Linked DNA regions of Homo sapiens: regions 2 and 3 are each linked to region 1. Evidence: promoter capture Hi-C in 16 types of primary human blood cells and fetal thymus (Javierre and others, 2016). All regions are on one chromosome and are shown on one strand. The core of a region is centred on a gene start or on the middle of the fragment in contact, and the rest is flanking DNA. Distances in the headings are between cores, read along the strand shown.

The links. The method cuts DNA at HindIII sites, captures the fragments that hold promoters and counts their contacts. A CHiCAGO score of 5 or more calls a contact.
Region 2: a contact is called between a fragment that was not itself captured here and the fragment with the promoter of CLSPN-AS1 in region 1, in 1 of 17 cell types (naive B cells). The highest score is 5.7, in naive B cells.
Region 3: a fragment that was not itself captured here is called in contact with the fragment with the promoter of CLSPN-AS1 in region 1 in 2 of 17 cell types (M1 macrophages and erythroblasts); the score reaches 5.4 in M1 macrophages.

What each region holds. Positions count from the first base shown.
Region 1 is chr1:35,737,775-35,741,341 of GRCh38, forward strand. It overlaps CLSPN-AS1 (CLSPN antisense RNA 1), which reads left to right and starts at 1,671. Exons shown (of 2, transcript NR_199043.1): 1 at 1,671-1,739. CLSPN (claspin) reads right to left here. Exons shown (of 25, transcript NM_022111.4): 19 at 1,591-1,755; 20 at 1,362-1,483; 21 at 681-808; 22 at 218-323. RefSeq lists enhancers at 520-1,021, 765-1,964. The HindIII fragment of the contact is 7,776 bases long and covers 114-3,567 here.
Region 2 is chr1:35,532,170-35,535,736 of GRCh38, forward strand. The region is part of intron 2 of KIAA0319L (KIAA0319 like); the gene reads right to left. Among named protein-coding and RNA genes, the nearest start is that of KIAA0319L, 23 kb to the right of the region's middle. The HindIII fragment of the contact is 856 bases long and covers 1,401-2,256 here.
Region 3 is chr1:35,609,361-35,612,927 of GRCh38, forward strand. It overlaps PSMB2 (proteasome 20S subunit beta 2), which reads right to left. Exons shown (of 6, transcript NM_002794.5): 4 at 1-48. Among named protein-coding and RNA genes, the nearest start is that of PSMB2, 30 kb to the right of the region's middle. The HindIII fragment of the contact is 3,690 bases long and covers 1-3,095 here.

The DNA.
Region 1 (3,567 bases), core at 421-2,920:
AAAACCAGCCACATATACTCATGAATACAGTCTCTACTGCCCAATAGTCTAAGATCTAAGTACACTGTCTCCCACCACCTCTGTGAAGCCTCTTTAAGACAGTATTAGACACAAGCTTATGATTAAGCTGCAACAGCTCCTGAAGGTTAGAGTCACCTCCAAAGCTCTACCACTAACAATCCAGGGGGCTAGACCCTAAGGAGAAACAAGAGCTCACCATTCTTCTGCAGTGCTTTGGCTGTAACTTTCTTGGCCAGTATCATAAACTGACTGTCCTCCCCAATTTCTTCTTCTTCTTCAGCTGTAATTTTCCCCTGCTGTGCCTGAAAAAAAAAAAAAATATATATATATATATATATATATATACAGCATTAAAAGTCTATAACCTTCCTAAATAGTTAGCATGGCCTGGATTGTGAAACTAGAGTTCCTGGGGTATTTGTTTTCCTTTTTGCAGCCTTTGCTGCTTTAGACAAAAAAAAATTAATCTTAGACAAACATGAAGAGAACTGTCTATGGTATAGCCTTCTCAAAACACAAAAGATAGCTCAAGGATTAAAAGAGATAGCAATATGTTGCCTAAGATTTTGAAACTATCATGACAAGCTAAGATTTTGAAACTATCATGACAAGCTAAGGGACAGTCTCATAAACTAGGGTCAGAGTAGGTGAACTCCTACCATGTCCCGAAGCCACTGCTCTCGTTCAATTCGCTCCTTCCTCCACCTGGCTTCTGACTCATCAAGCTGTTCTTCAGTCTGATCATCATCAGAGTCTCTGTGGAACAAGTCCATCTGGGAAGCATCATCTAAACAAAGAGTGAAGGTAATCAGCATTCGGCAGTCCTCACAGGAGAGGGTGCTTGGACAGACAAAAAATAAACCCTTATCATTTACTATATAATGATGTAAACTTTTCCCATCCATTAACAGAAAACAGTTACAACTAGGTCTTCACATAGCCTGTTATAGTTTTGCTTGCCATTTGCCATCTGAAACTCGACAAATATGCATTGTAACTGTTTGCTTTTTTTTTTTTTTTTTTGAGATGGAGTCTCGCTCTGTCGCCCAGGCTGGAGTGCAATGGCATGATCTCTGCTCACTGCAACCTCCGTCTCCCGGGTTCACGCAATTCTCCTGCCTCAGCCTCCTGAGTAGCTGGGATTACAGGCGCGTGCCATCACAGCCTGCTAATTTTTGAACTTTTAGTAGGGACGGGGTTTCACCATGTTGTTCAGGCTGGTCCTGAACTCCTGACCTTGTGATCCACCTGCCTCTGCCTCCCAAAGTGTTGGGATTACAGGCGTGAGCCACCATGCTCAGCCCGTAACTGATTGCTTTTAAAGACAACAACCAAGATACCTATGTTTTTCCATCGAAACTTCCTCATTCGCCCAGGACCATCGCTGTGCAGATCCCCATCAGCAAGGTACCTCTCTTGGTATAAACGTAGCTGTCGCTTATCATCATCCAACATAGTTTTCCTGCAACAGGAGAAATAAGGTGTTCAAAACAAGGACCATTCTGGCTGGTTACAGGGCTTGTCTTAAGATGTACCCTATTACTCAGAAGGGCTTATTGGGATACTGACATGTGTATTTTCTTGATTTGACTCTGCAGTTCCTCATCAGAAGGAAGTACTTCATCAATTACGTCCTCTTCATATTCATCAATTTCTTCCCCATCATACTCATCTTCGCTTCCCACATCACTTCCTGACACCTCTGCCTCATCCTCCAGGTATTTCCTCAACCTCCTAGAAAGCAATTTTGAGGATTAGAAAATGCAACAATGAATATACTCACAGAATATGGAAGCAAAGAAAAGCAGAACAGAGTCACTTCTAATAATAATAAACATAATACATTTGATAATATTTAAATTTTTTTGTAATAGTCTCCACTTATGATGGTTTGACTTAATGATTTTTCAACTTTACGATGACATGAATGTGATACGCACTTAGTATGCTTCTCGATTTACGATGGAGTTATATCTGGATAATATGAAAGTGCATTTTCAACTTATGATGGATTGATCAGGATATAGTCCCATTGTAAGATGTGGAGCATCTGTATTTAAAAGTTGATCACTTAATATGTCTTGTGTGCTAATAACTGTGCTTTACAGGCATTAACATATTATCATAGGAATGGGTACTATTATTCTCTTCATTTTACAGTTGAGGGAATTGAGCCTCAGAAAGATTACATTTACCCAAGGTCACATAGCTAGAAGGTAGCAGAGCCTGGATTCAACTTAGATTGGGTGATTTGAAAGCCAGAAAACTCTTAATCTCTTTTACATGTATTAGAATACCTGCTGGAAGGTTCAAACTATTTCATTTTGCATTTGAGCACACCAGCTTTAAGAGACAAACTAGAGATGGTGTGGTGTAGAAAGGTAATAAACTGGGATCTTCTTACAGCCTAACAAATCTTGACCCCCACATCAGAAGGAAGACTAAGGCTCAGAGCTCCTGGTAATCAAAACGACTAGTTACTTCTTATGACTTCAGCTCCCCCGGAGAATAAATCTGGTGTCACCCTGGATTCAAAGTCACCTTGGTCCCATGTGGTCCAAAATGGCAGAAGTTTGGTGGCTTTCTGAAAACTGATTTTTATCGAAGACCTATACTGTATTTTCTCTTTTTTTTTTTTTTTGAGATGAAGTGTCGCTCTGTCGCCTAGGCTGGAGTGCAGAGATGCCATCTCGGCTCACTGCAACCTCCACCTCCTGGGTTCAAGTGATTCTCATGCCTCAACCTCCCGAGTAGCTGGGATTACAGGTGCGTGCCACCATGCCTGGCTAATTTTTGTTTTTTTAGTAGAGATAGGGTTTCACCATGTTGGCCAGGGTGGTCTTGAACTCCTGACCTCAGGGGATCTGTCCATCTCAGCCTCCCAAAGTGCTGGGATTACAGGCATGAGCCACCACGCCCAGCCTATACTGTATTTTCTTAAAGCTAAGTTGTTCTAAATCCTAGAGTTCCTGGAAAATTCCTTCAGAGGCCACTAGTCACTAAGTTTCCCAAACTTCCCACTTACCATCTTTGAACAGTTCAACTTTTATCTGTCATTCTTTAAAAGATTTTATTTGAACAAAGAGCTCTGCAGAGAAGAACCACTACCTTAGAAAAATCTATGGATAACCTAAAGCTGTATGAGAGTTAATTTGATAGGTGATAAATTAGAACCCAAAGTGAATCTTAATAGAATGAAATGATGGGATAAAAGCAACCATATAAATCTAATAGGGATCAATATGATGTCCTATATGTGAATTCCAAATCATTCACATACAATATAATATTAAATACCTATTAGAATTATCTTTATAAAACTTTTTTTAACATCATAGGAAAATGTTTCTGGATATGCTAAGTAGAAAAAAAAAGATGCAAAATTATACATATAGAAAGATTGTACAAATCTCAACTATATAAAAATATATGCATAAAAAAGATTAAGGGGAACAAACTAACTTTCATTTATATCCTGGATGGTGGACATGGATAAGTTTTTATTTATATCTTTCTGTATTCTTTTTTTGCGGGGGTCGGGGAGAA
Region 2 (3,567 bases), core at 579-3,078, 210 kb before region 1:
AGGCAGAGGTTGCAGTCATCAAGATTGTGCCACTACACTCCAGCCTGGGCGACAGAGTGAGACTCCGTCTCAAAAAAAAAAAAAAAGAGGAAGAGGTACTCTGATCTCTCAGTTCACATGTTTAATTCGTGGGATTTTGACTGAGTTTTTAAAAATTAAATGTTATTTAATGTTGTTACATCATGTGTTCAATAATAAAAATACGAAAAGAAAAAAACAGTTCTTTTTCATCCATTCCCTGAATCATAGTTCTTTGTCTTAGGTGGTTAAAAGACAGTTAACATCTTAAATGATTCTAGTTTCAGCTCTAGGTCCATCATTTACCAGATAGTTAACCTTTGAAGAATAATTTAACTTAAGATTAAATTTTCAGTGTTGATACTCTTGGGACAAAGAGTTCATAAAAGGAGGAAGCAGAAAGGCATTGGTAGAGTCAATATTGGATTCTAGAAGTAACTGGGATAAAAGGTAAGATGAAAATATACTCCAATTTTAGATCAGTTCCTCTCCCTGCCCACGCTGCCATACCCTGGCTCTGCTCCCAGGGCCCAGGCAAAAGCAATATTAAATCTTTACAAAAAATGGCTTACAGTTGGTAGAACCTTAGACTGAAAATCTTTTGGGAAAGTCTGGAATGCACTGTTGGTAGGAGCATGTAGAAAGCTTACCCAGGGTGAGAACAGTGGAGCAAAGCCAATTCCCCTCTTTCTAAAATCATAGCAAAGCAGAGAAAGCAGTGCTCCCATATGTATTACCTGGAGGATCCCCAAAACAGGAGGCTCTGGAACTAGCAATGCTTACTTACATCACCACCTCTCAAAAGACAGAATTCTAATATATCTGGCACAAAATCTAGACCAGGTTTCATAATTCCAAGTAGCAGAGTGGAAAAGTCTACAGGATATATGAATTATTGCCAGAAGGAAATTCATTAAATACTTTTAGAAAGCTGTGAACAACTCTGGAAATATTTAAAGACAGTGCTGTTGGCTCTGGCATTCTTAAATCTCAGGTAATAAGCTTGGCTTCTCAAGCAAACTTGAAAACTGCCCTGGTTAGCAACCAAGTAGGGAGCAGAGACAGAACGTCCCCTGTTTCAGGAGTCATACTGTTAGTGTCCAGAAATGTAAATTCTAACTAAATTCATCAGACTGTATCCCAAAGGAAAGGCTGTGATGGTGGAAATAAGAGTAGAGAGAATGAGCTACCAGTATTATTTCAAAAAAGAAAAAAAAAGCAGTTGATAAATTCTTCTCTTCGGTGGGGTTTTCGCTGCAGAAACAAATACATGGTTAGAGTATTCTGTAGAAAAAATTTGCAATTAATATTTACCGTCATTGAAGCTAAAATTCTTTTCTTGAAATCTCACAATTTTCTAATATGGTCAAGACTTCATTCAAAGCTTTCCCTTGATAATTATACCTATAAATGAACTATTATCAAGGAGAAAGGCACAGCCTTAAATTTGTCTCTTTATTCAGTAATTGAACTATGGCTCTACACCATCTGTCTTCCTACAGCTATCATCAAAAGTATGCATTCTCTCAGAAGCAATGGGTCTCAGCCAAGATGGCTGCCACATGAAAATGAGATAAGCAGGCACATTATCAATCCCAAAAACAACTCACAGGAACCGTTCAAAAACAAACCTCCTCAGGGGGCACCCTCCACCTCCCTTTTGACTGTCAGCATGTCTGTCACCTGCACACCCACTAATAAACAAATACAAAAAAAATGGTTCCACCTTACTCTCCACATCAGTTCTACCCTGCAGGGGTTAGCACATTCAGAAACAAGGCAGAGGAGGTAACTAAATCCTTTGAAGGACACAATCAGGTATTACGAAGTTTGAAAAAAGCCAAGGTAATAACCATTGCCCTCTCTCCTCCTTTTCAAAAGGGGTAACATTTTTTTCCTCAACTACACACAGGTTGGATTGAAAGGTGGCAGCTGCCTCACAAAGCAGTCCTTTGAAAATAATTACTACTCACTGCCTTTGCTATGTGCCTAGCTTTGCTAAGAGTACAGTTTTTTAAATGTATGGTGTAGATGATTTGCTGAAACTACACTAACTGCTACACAAGAATTAATAGGCTTTGTGTACATATTCTGACTTCTTTCCCTTCACCGTGGTATTTCCATTTTTCCTAAAGATCATTCTGAACAAAAACAAACTCCTCATGGAACTACTTGCCCAACAGATACATATCAGCTACTATTCACACTAACTCTTGATTATCTGCTAGATGGAAAACAAGCTTCCAAGGACTCAATCACAAAACCTGAATCTTGCAGTACTTTGCTGGTTAAGAATGCTTACAACAGCAAGTCCTTTCCTATAACACTGTCACTAAAAAGCCTCAAAGATACTGGATTGTGACAAACTGTTGAAAAGAATAACAATCGGTGGCCGGGCGCAGTGGCTCATGCCTGTAATCCCAGCACTTTGGAAGGCCGAGGCAGGTGGATCACGAGGTCAGGAAATCGAGAACTTCCTGGCTAACACAGTGAAACCCCATCTCTACTAAAAATACAAAAAATTAGCCGGGCGTGGTGGCAGGCACCTGTAATCCCAGCTACTCAGGAGGCTGAGGCAGGAGAATGGTGTGAACCTGGGAGGCAGAGCTTGCAGTGAGACGAGATCGGGCCACTACACTCCAGCCTGGGTGACAGAGCGAGACTCCGTCTCAAAAAAAAAAAAAAAAAAAAAAAAAGAAAGAAAAACAATCACAAGGTCAGGAGTTCGAGACCAGCCTGACCAACATGGCAGTCAAAAAATCAGCCAGCTGTGGTGGCGCATGCCTGTAATCCCAGCTACTTAGGAGGCTGAGACAGGAGAATCGCTTGAACCCAGGAGATGGAGGTTGCAGTGAGCCAAGATCACACCACTGCACTCTAGCCTGGAAGACACAGCAAGACTCCGTCTTAAAAAAAAAAAAAAAAAAAAAAAAAAAAGAATAACAGTACCCAGTACCAGAACATCTCCCTAGAAGAGGGCAATATTTATAGGCAGAAGAGTAGGGGAAAGTCCTTTTACTCTACCTACTTGAAACAGAATACTTATACTTCACAGGCTAAAGAAAATATGAAAACCACCCTCATTTAGTCTAGGTGAGAAAATAAATTCATTCCCCAAGGTAATGTTCATACATGTCCCTCATAACATTGAGTTGAAATTTGTTTTCAAACAAAATCCCCTATCAAGATCAACAGCCCTATTCCACAATTGCTCTCTTCTATCTTTTGGCCCCCACCCCAAAAATCTGTGGTTAAAGCTTTAGTTCCTAAAGCTGAGATTCCTGCATTTGAATCTCAACCCAGTCACTTCCTAACTGTGTCATCTTGGGTCAAATTCCTTAGTTTTTTCATGTGTAAAACAGGAATAATTTTAACAGTACCTACCCTACAGAGTTATTAAAGATATAAAGGAGAAAATATATGCAAAGTACTTAACATGAGCCTGGCATATAGTATTAAAAAGCTCAGTATATATTAGTTGCCATTATTTATGTTGTTGTTGTTATACTTCATTTTAGCTCGGCCACCACTTTTTCCAGGAAGGCTTCT
Region 3 (3,567 bases), core at 1-2,500, 130 kb before region 1:
TTCATGCTCATCATAGCCAGCCAGGAGGAGGTTCACATGATATGGGGTCTGCAAAGAAAAGATATGGCAAAGTGATAACTAAAGCAGAACACCAACATCTCTTCCCATGGCAAATGAGAATATTCTGACTCTTCATGAGAAAGAAAATATTAGCAGCAACTGAGTAAATCACAATGAAAGTAAAAATGTAGGGAAATCTAGAGGACCTGGAGTATGGTAACAGGTCAAGGGACGTCAGCTTGTTCTCTTTGAAAGGAAGGGCATTTGGAGCACTTTAAGGTATATGAAAAAGCTGCCATCTTCTTAAAGTCTATGGATGAGAACCTGTATAAAAGCACTTCTTCAAAAAGTATTTGATAGCAAAACAGAGTGACTATAGTTAATAATAGCTTAACTGTATATTTTAAAATAACTAAAAGAGTATAATTGGGTTGTCTGTCACACAAAGGAGAAATGATTGAGGTGAGAGATACCCCATTTACCCTGATGTGATTATTACACATTGTATGCCTGTATCAAAATATCCCATATACCCAATATATATATACACACATACGATGAACGCACAAAAATTTAAAATAAAAAAAAATTTTGCAAGCACTGCAAAGGCAAAGCATAGGTGCTCTTTTGTCATTCCTAATTGTTGAAACCAACGAACAATTCTGAGAATGCCAGGCCACTGACTGAAAAAAGCAGATGCTCCAACCACATCAAATGAAATAAACAAACTCAGTCTGGGCATCTGGACCAATCCCAAATGGTAAACTGCATGCCCACTACTAAAGAAACAACTTATAGCTGGGCACAGTAGCTCACAGGTATAATCTCAGCACTTTGGGAAGCTGAGGTGGGAGGCTTGCTTGAGCCCAGGAGTTTCAGACCAGCCTAGGTAACACAGTGGGACTTGGTTTCTACAAAAAAACTAAAAAATTAGCCGGGCATGATGGCGCGCACCTGTGGTCCCAGCTACTCAGGAGGCTAAGGTGGGAGGATCACTTGAACCAAGGAGGTCAGGGCTACCATGAGCCATGACTGTGCCACTGAACTCCAGCCTGGGTTCAAAAAAAAAGAGAAAGAGAGAGAAAAGAAACAACTCATGAGGTAGGGAGGGATAGTAAGTCTCTTTCTTTGTTGTTGTTTTTTTGTTTTTTTGAGACGGAGTCTGGCTCTTGTCCCCCAGGCTGGAGAGCAATGGTGCGATCTTGGCTCACCGCAACCTCTACCTCCCAGGTTCAAGCGATTCTCCTGCCTCAGCCTCCCAAGTAGCTGGGATGACAGGCGCCCTCCACCACACCCGGCTAATTTTCGTATTTTTAGTAGAGACAGGGCTTCATCATGTTGGCCAGGTTGGTCTCGAACTCCTGACCTCGTGATCCGCCCGCCTCGGCCTCCCAAAGTGCTGGGATTACAGGCGTGAGCCACTGCGCCCGGCCATAAGTCTCAAATATTTAAATCAAATCACCAGACTTAACTGAAAAGTAATTTTGAGACAAATAAAAAGCAACAAAAAATAATTATAACTTGGATTTATAGGTATCCTTTCTTTGTATTACCTGCAAATCTAAAAACATAAGTTTTATAGAGAACCATGACTGAGTCTGCGTTGCTCTTCATCTCCAAATGGATGATTTTTTTTTTCTACACCAGCTGCGCCATTTACCATGTTAAATTCAGTCTGTCTATGCCCCCAGGCATCAGGGGTGGGACTTCCATTTTATATGGCTTTCTTTTTCTCTGCAGGATGTGTTTCTCCTCTTGCCTTTGCTTCAGCGGGTAGTAAGCAGGCCTTGCCCATGGATATGTCCCCATCCCTAAATTTGTCTATGTATTTAATTAAACGCACAGTAAGTGAGACACCTCATTATGAAGCATGAAGTGTAATAGCTAATGGTCCTAAAAGTGGCATTTAACATTCTTTGAACACTGATTAACACGGCCACTTGGCAGCCTTAAAAAACTCATGGTTTTTGCTTTTTTTGGGGGGAGGGGTTGGGAGGGGAGTAACAGGCTTTTGTTCTGTCGCCCAGGCTGGAGTGCAGTGGTGCAATCATAGCTCGCTGCAGCCTCAAACTCCTAGGCTCAAGTGAATTTCCCACCTCAGCCTCCTGAGCAGCTACGACTATAGGCACCTACCACCATGCCCTGCTGATTTATTATTATTTTTTTAAGAGATGAAGTCTTGGCCGGGCACGGTGGCTCATGCCTGTAATCCCAGCACTTTGGGAGGCCGAGGCGGGCAGATTACTTGAGGTTAGGAGTTTGAGACCAGCCTGGCCAACATGGTGAAATATTGTCTCTACGAAAAATACAAAAATTAGCCATGCGTGGTGGCACGAGCCTATAATCCCAGCTACTTGGGAGGCTGAGGCATGAGAATCGCCTGAACCTGGGAGGCAGAGGCTGCAGTGAGCCGAGATAGTGCTACTGCACCACTCCAGCCTGGGCAATAGAGCAAGACTCTATCTCCAAAAAAAAAAGGAGAGAGAGAGAGAGAGAGATGGGGTCTCACTATGTTGCCCAGGCTGGCCTTCAACTTCTAGGCTCAAGTAATCCTTCCACCTTGGCCTCCCAAAGTGCTGGGATGACAGTCTTGAGCCACCGTGCCTAGCATGAAACTCATATTATATACTTACTTGGAATTCTAAGCCAGCTGTGCTAAGTAGAAAGGGTTCCTAACATCGCCTGGAGATTACAGAGTAGTCCTCACCTCCAAATAAGTTTCTGTTTTAGTGATAGGACAGTGGGTAGTCCCAGAGAGAAATAAGTTGACCAGCAGTCAAGACTTCTGAGAAAATAATTATCTGCCTATTGTATTTCCCAATGAGTAGCGTGCGGCACTCTGCCAAGCTCTGGAATTCTCTGTGCATTCTGAGTACCTTCTTAGTAAAGCTGACCTTAGGCAAAAAACTTAACCCCTATGAGCTTCTGGGTTTTTTTTTTTTTAACATGTAAAACTGGGTTAATTAATCTTTCTCCTTTCTATCTTCTAGGAAATATAATGAGAAAAAATAATAACGGTAAAACAACCCAAACTCTGGAAGAAAAGATGCTACCAAAATTCCTACTACATAACTACATCCCAGTCTCTTTTTGAAAGCTTATCACTTTAAACAACAACAAACCTGCTTAAATTAGCTACAGATTTTAAAAATGCTATTAGTTATATATAAGTGTGAAAACAGTACTGCAAAATCTGGCAGACATAGAATACCTTGGTGTTCTTACAGTTAAAATTAGAAGAGAGAAAGAGGGAGGAAAAGAGGCAGAATAGCAAAGAGAAACTGGTATCCCTCCCCAAGAGAATTAATAATACAGTCTTTTACCTATCACAAAGTAAGTTAAATCTTTTTGCTAAGAGGATAATCTCTACTCTTCTCTACTAACTAGCCAGAACACTCACTGTATACTTAGCCAAGACAATTTCATCAAGTTGCAATGGTATATTAAGTATTCCCCCAGATACTCAAAGAGGCCTTGTTAGAACCCAGATGTTTTGTCTTCAATGAAGATCTTGTCCATACTATGAGATTAAATTGTTTAGAACAATAAATGTTATTTAAAATCCAC